Linked DNA regions of Homo sapiens: region 1 is linked to region 2. The links are contacts of gene promoters, found by promoter capture Hi-C in blood cells and fetal thymus (Javierre and others, 2016). All regions are on one chromosome and are shown on one strand. The core of a region is centred on a gene start or on the middle of the fragment in contact, and the rest is flanking DNA. Distances in the headings are between cores, read along the strand shown.

Evidence for each region. Contacts are between HindIII fragments. The CHiCAGO score rates a contact against its expected background, and 5 or more counts as called.
Region 1: a contact is called between a fragment that was not itself captured here and the fragment with the promoter of OPRD1 in region 2, in 6 of 17 cell types (activated CD4 T cells, naive CD4 T cells, naive CD8 T cells and 3 more). The highest score is 7.2, in activated CD4 T cells.

The regions. Positions count from the first base shown.
Region 1 is chr1:28,411,658-28,415,263 of GRCh38, reverse strand. The region is part of intron 2 of PHACTR4 (phosphatase and actin regulator 4); the gene reads right to left. Among named protein-coding and RNA genes, the nearest start is that of PHACTR4, 44 kb to the right of the region's middle. The HindIII fragment of the contact is 1,580 bases long and covers 1,418-2,997 here.
Region 2 is chr1:28,809,913-28,813,481 of GRCh38, reverse strand. It overlaps OPRD1 (opioid receptor delta 1), which reads right to left and starts at 1,312. Exons shown (of 3, transcript NM_000911.4): 1 at 872-1,312. The coding sequence starts at 1,098. The HindIII fragment of the contact is 20,164 bases long and covers 1-3,569 here.

The DNA.
Region 1 (3,606 bases), core at 958-3,457, 400 kb after region 2:
TTTGAGACAGAGTCTCGCTCTGTTGCCCAGGCTGGCGTGGAGTGGCGTGATCTTGGCTCACTGCAACCTCCGCCTCCCGGGTTCAAGCAATTCTCCTGCCTCAGCCTCCCAAGTAGCTGGGACTACAGTAGCACGCCATCATGCCTGGGTAATTTTTTGTATTTTAGTAGAGGCGGGGTTTCACCTTGTTGCCCAGGCTGGTCTCGAATTCCTGAGCTCAGGCAAACCGTCCACCTCGGCCTCCCAAAGTGCTAGGATTACGGGGGTGAGCCACCGCGCCCAGCCTAATTTTTTCTTTTAACTGGTAGTATACACCAGTATAGGTTAACAAGTAATACATTCATTGTATTTTATCCAGGTCTCTGAAATGAGATGAAAGGGAGGTGACCTAAAATCAGGAGAAGCAAGGTAAAAGCTGTTTGATTCCTCTATCACTTTCCCTACTCCATGATCTTCAATGTCTGTCCTACACTAACTCTGGCGGAATTTTGGAATCTGTTTTCCAAGAAAGTGTAAAGCAAATGGTCTCTGGAAAGGGGTCGCAAAAGGCAACTGATGGTAGGGATATGGTACAAAAAATGGAAGGGGTTGGGTGCAATGGCTCATGCCTGTAATCTCAACTTTTGGGGAGGCCGAGGTGGGAGAATCACTTGAGCCCAGGAGTTCAAGACCAGCCTGGGCAACATAGGGAGACTGCATCTTTACAAAAAGTAAAAAAATTAGTCAGGCATGGTGGTATGTGCCTATAGTCCCAGCTACTTGGGAGGCAGAGGTGGGAGAATTGTTTGAGCTCAGGAGGTCGAGGCTGCGGTGCTTTTTTTTTTTTTTTTTTTTTTGAGACAGAGGAAGACTGACCCCAAAAAATAAAAATAAAAAAATAAAATGAAAAAGAAAATAAGGCCAGCTGCAGAGGCTCATGCCTGTAATCTCAGCACTTTGGTAGGCCGAGGCAGGCGGATCACCTGAGGTCAGGAGTTCGAGACCAGCCTAGCCAACATGGTGAAACCCTAAAACTACAAAAATTAGCCAGGCAGTGATGGGTGCTTGTAATCCCAGTTACTCGGGAGGCTGAGGCCAGGAGAATCATTTGAACCCAGGAGGCAGAGGTTGCAGTAAGCTGAGATGGCGCCACTGCACTCTAGCCTGGGTGACAGAGCAAGACTCCATCTCAAAAGATAAAAATAAAGTAAAATAAAATACAAATACAAGTAAAATTAAAAATGGAAGAGAATTAAGTGAAAATATGCATAATTAATGCTGAATGCAGCAGTCTCTTCAGTCAGTTTTCTTCACCCCTTACCATCCAAACACAGTGGGAAGACTGTGCCCCTTAGACCCTGATACTGATATGAGAATGTTCATCAACAATAAGGCCAAGAAGCTCACCCAAAGGCAACCTGCCTATACATTTAAAGCTTCTAACTGGCTATTTAGTCCCTCACTTTTAACCATCAGCAGACAGTTAATTATTACTAGACATCAGAGAAAAACTCTAACATAAAAGAAACCAAATCAATATTTAAAAACAATGTTAGGAAAAAAAGAGACTATGCAGGGCAAGGAAAATCTGTTGAAAGAATGAAAGGATAGTATAAAAAGAAACATGCAGAGACTTCAAAAAGACCTCCTGGAGATTAAACTCTAATAGTAGAAAAGAAAAATTTAATAAAAGTAGAAGATAAAGTTGAATAAATCTTGCAGGAAACATATCTAAAGGAAAAAGAAATGAATTAGATAATTATTCCAGGAGGTTCAACATCAAAAAGCTACTGGCAACCAAGACAGAGGAAGACATGAGGGTTTAGGAAACAAAGGAGCTAACACAGGAAAGAAGCAAAGCTGTCAGGAAAATGGAGACTGGATAACCCAGGATGACAGTTGCGTACCACCTCTACAGACTGCAAGGCCACCTGTACACAGACTGGAGCAATGTGACTCAAGAGATATATTGAAAGCTGTCATCACCAATATCTCTGCTGCTATTTATCCTTTTTAAAGCTAAGAACACAGTACCCAGGTGAGCCTGGCCCTCAGCCTGTCTTGACTAAATGCTTATGGATTTCTTCTTTGAACATACTTGATTGCCTAATGAGTTCCAGACTCATTTCGCTCCACAAAAGTTTCTTTAACCCAGCGGTCCCCAACCTTTTTGGCACCAGGGACCAGGTTCATGGAAGACAATTTTTCTACAGACGGGGGTGTTGGGGTGGTTTGGGATGAAACTGTTCCACCTAATCACTGATCTGACAGGAGGTGGAGCTCAGACTGTAATGCTCACTGGCCCACTGCTCACCTCCTGTGGCCCGGGGGTAGTGGTGCAGGGTACTCCTGCTTAGGAGAAACCACAGAGCTAATCACTCCCTCTGACCATATTTCTGTCAAATGTCCAAGACCTAGTCCACACTGAAACCCTGCCCAATACAATCTCCAGGATTAAATCTTAACTTTACTCATGACTTCCATAGAAGGGCCTCTAGGAACCTCAGGAAAATGAAGCAAGTATAATCTGCTGATCTCTGGGGATCCCTGAGATCCTTTCAGAAGTCCAAGAGGTAAAACTAAATACATAAGAATACAAAAAAATTATTTGCCTTTTCCACTGTGTTGACACTTGCACTGATGGTACAAAAGCAATGGTGAGCAAAACTGTTAGCACCTTAACACAAATCAAGGCAACAGCACCAAACTGTAGCAGAAATCATTGTATTCTTCACAACTACACAGTTACAGTGAAAAATAAATTCAACTTTAAGAATGTCCTTGATAAAGCAATAAAAAATATTAGTTTTAATAAATATCAACCCTTTAGTACATATATTTTTATTACTGTTTATGATGAAACAGAAATATGTATAAAGCACATTTGTATACTAAGTATGATGGTTATCTCCAGGAAAGGCATTTGTGTGACTGAGTTGCAAACTGAACTAGACAGTTTTCTTCATGGAATACTATTTTTACTTGAAAGACTGAACAACAAGCTATGTTATTCAAGCTTAGATAGCTGACAGGCATTTTCTCAAAAGTAAGCCTGTCACTAATAAAGAAAATTAACAGTATTTGTTGCTAGTGATAGAATTCAAGCTTTCAAGTGAAATTCCTATTTTGGAAAATTTACATCCAGAATGAGCTTGACAGCTTCCCAACATTTAACATTTTTTTCAACGAGACCAATAGTGATATTAACGAACATGATATTTAAATATTATATAATGAAATGTGTAAGCATCTGTCCAGGTAGAAAAGGTCCTAGAGACCTTAGGTCTATCCTTCTGGTACTTTATTCGTAAAAATCCCTCACTACTTTTATTTCCAGAATACCACAAATAATTCTTTCTTTCTTTCTCTTTCTTTCTTTCTTTTGTTCATTCGTTCTTTCTTTCTTTTGTTCATTCGTTCTTTCTTTCTTTCTTTTGGGTGGTTTCTGTTTTCTTTTTTTCCTTTTTTATGTCATTTTTTACTTCAATAGGTTTTGGGGAATGGGTAGTATTTGGTTACATGAATACGTTCTTTAGTGGTGATTTCTAAGATTCTGGTGCAACCATCATCCAAGCCGTGTACACTGTACCCAATGTGTAGTCTTTTATCTCTTTTTCAATATTTCTA
Region 2 (3,569 bases), core at 63-2,562:
CCCAGACCAACCTCTGCTGCCTCTGGCAGAAGAAAAGACTGTTAGAGGAGGCAAAGAGAAAATGGGAGAGGGCATTTGTGAGGAGGGCGTGAGTCTTCTCTGAATCCTATTCAGAATTCCTGACCAGATGGGCACTGGCGAAGGGAACAGAGAACCGGTTGGCGGCCCACAGCTGTCGCCCATGTTATCCAGGAATCACTGGCAAAGGCACACACAGCTGCACAAACACAGGGACGACGGCCACTCCGGATGCTCTGCCGCCCTCGGGGTTTCAAGAGCTTGACAAGAAACAACAGTCACATTGTTACATTCAGACAGAATCACAAACTGACCGTTAGGGACAAGCTCACACCAACAGATGAGCACCAAATATGACTTGGTAAGGGCCCCACGGCGAGGTGCTGACACCCAGCACCCTCCTGTCCGCCCTGCCTGCACGGTGCCCTCACACCGGTCTCCCCAAAGGCCCGCGGCACCTCAGAGCAGCTCTGCCCACCCCATGGGCATGTTTCCGACGTCCAAACATACAGTTGTACTGTCACAACCATCCACTCACAAACTGTGACAGACACACAAACTGACGCCAAACTGTCCCACAAAGAAGCAAGGGGATGCCAACAGATGATCAAATGTAATTTAGTCAACCGCGGCGCACTCCCCCCCCCGCACCACACACACACATACACACGATGACACACATTCCTGTGTTCCCCTCGATGTAAGTGGCCTCGCCTCTCGCTGGGCCCCAGGTGCCCCTGCAGGAAATGCGGAGGCGCGGGGAGTCCAGGGAACGGGCTTGGGGTCTCAAGTTCGTGATCCCCACCCTCACCCCGGGCTCCAGCCCTGCGGCGCCGGCCCGCAGCGGACTCACCGGACGATGCCGAACATGACAAGCACGTTGCCCAGCAGCCCCACGGCGCACACGGCCGAGTAGAGCGCGGTGATGGCGATTGCCAGGGCGAGGGACGAGGCGCTCCGCGCGCCTGGCGGCCCCGACGCATTGGCGCCAGCGCTGGGGCAGGCGCTAGGGTAGGCGTCCGAGGCGTTGGCGAAGAGCGGGGGCTGCAGCTCGGCGCCGGCGGAGGGGGCCGGTTCCATGGCTGCCGGCCGGCTCCGCCGCGTCCCTCTCCACCGTGCGCCCTGGGCGCGGGGATCCGACGCGAGGGGAGCGGCAAGGCAGAGGCCGCGGCCCCGACGCCGCCGGCTGCCGCGCCCCGGCCGCCCCGCTGTCTCTGCGCCTCGTCCGCCTGCCTCGCCGCCCGCACCGGCCCAGCCCCCGGCGTCCGCCCGCTCTCCTCGCCCGGAGCGCTGTGAGCCAGGAGCAGCCGCAGGCTCCTCGGACGCGCCCGCCGCGCGCACCACGTGGCCCGGAGGCGGCCGCCAGTCTGCGCCCGCGACCGGGGGCGGACGCTGCACCACCGGCTCGGAGCTGGGCAGGGGAGGCCTCCCGCCCCCTCCCTAGGGATGCTCCGCCGGCTCGAGTGCGACCCCGTCCCAACCTGGACTCCCCTCCCACCCCCTTGCCACTTTGGTGTCAGAGGGACCTGGGTGTGGATCCCGCCTCCCGCCCCTGCACTAACAGGCGGAGTGACCTTGTGTAAGTCACTTAACCTCCCTCAGCTTCATTCTCTTTGTCTGTGAGATGAGGAAAATCGTACCACCTCCCTCAGAGGGTGGTTGGGGAGATTGAATAAAATGATTCGAACAAAGAGCTTAGAGCAGTGCCCTGCGGACAGTTACATGCTCCGTAAATAACCTATATTATCCGTGCCTTTCTTGCACCCCATTCATTCGCTCAACAAAAATTCTGAGGGTGCCTAATAGAAGAGCCGGGTATTTGGGGGGACCCTCTAGTACACAAAACCAGATGCAGCCTCTGCTTCCTGGGGCTTACAGCCCAGTGCAGGAGAGAGAGCGAGCAACCCTAAAATGACATTAAGATATAGGTACGAATTGAGAAAGTGGCAGGGTCTACAAAACCCAGGGGTCAGGACAGCTTCCCTGGGGAAACGACACTTGAGGTGAGGTGTGAAGTTTGGGGAAGAACTAACTTAAGGAAGTAACAAGGGAAGAGGATTCCGGATAAAGGAAGCAGAGGGACTGAAAGGAAGCCAGGAAGAGGAGAAGGCAGGAAGTGAGGGGGCGATGAGGTGGTGGGCAGGCTCTTGAAGACCACCTTAAGGAGCACTCTGGCTGCAGTGCGAGCAGATAGAAGGGGGGCACTTGGCTAAGTCATCCTTGCCACACCCCTTCCAAGACCTAACCATTCCAGATTAGAGCCATCCTTCTTCTTGGGGTGCCTAGCCTTTCCAGAACATTCTACCAAGCATTACTTTGCTCCAGGCACTGTGATAAGCACTTTATCCATGCACCAACACTTTGGTGTAGCTTCTATTATTATTGTCCCCATGTTACAGATTTAGTGCTCAGCACTAAATTATCCCATATAGTAATTATTTCTATCCGAACTGGTCTCCCTCCTTAAAGGGACCAGGTCTGATTGACCCCTGCATCCAGGAGAGGGCTGGGGTCACAGCAGGTGCTCAAGAAATACTTTTTGGATAATAAAGATCCCAAAGGGAACTGGAGTGGAACAATATTAGGGGTTCTGAGCTCTAGGCTCTGGGGCAATGCTCTTGGATCTGTGTGTGGCTGGACAAGGAGCTCTCCCTCATCTCACCCTCTAGCTTGAATCATCCATATATGTGCAAGGCTCCTACCCTTTCCCAGAAAAAAGCAAAGCCAGAATTCCCAAGCTCACCCTCTTCTCCATTTTCTCCACCCCACTTAGCTGCTGTCCAGCCACTTCTACCAACTACAGCAAGCCCCCCACCCCAGGGCTTTCCCACTCAACCACCTAAGGACTTATCAGAAAGATTTTTGCTGTGGTCACCTGCTGCCAAAACTCTCTCCCTTTCCCAAAGGGCCTGGTACTCAGAAACTTTTCTAGTGCCAGCAGAGAGAAATTGGGATAGGAAGAAGGAGGGCTACTTTATTGGAATTCTGGTCCCCTCCCTAACCCTCCAAGCCAAGTTTTTTCCTACCTCAGGACATTTGTACATGCTATTCCTTCCACTCGGAAGGCTGGGCCAATACCCCAGCCTAAGCGTTATTTACCCCTCAAATTTCAGCTTAAATATCACTTCCTTTGTGAAACCTTCCCTGATCCCCACCCCACCTCCAACTAGCCCAGCTCTCCTTATTATGCAGTAGCATCACGTACTTCTTCTTTACATATTAATAGTTTCCCATGTATTTATTGTGTAATCATTGGATTTTTTGTGCATCACCTTCACACAAAAAAGTATTGTGTAAAACTAACCATTGAATACTATGCTCAGTAACTTAGTTGACAGGATAATTCATACCCCAAACCTCAGCATCACAAAATATACCCAGGTGGCAAATCTGCACATGGATCCCTTGGATCTACAAGAAAAATTGAAAAAGGCTGGGCACGGTGGCACACACTTGTAATCCGAACATTTTGAGAGGCTGAGGCAGACAGATCACTTGAGCCTAGGAGTTCGAAACCAGCGTGGGCAACATGGCAAAACCCTGTCTCTACA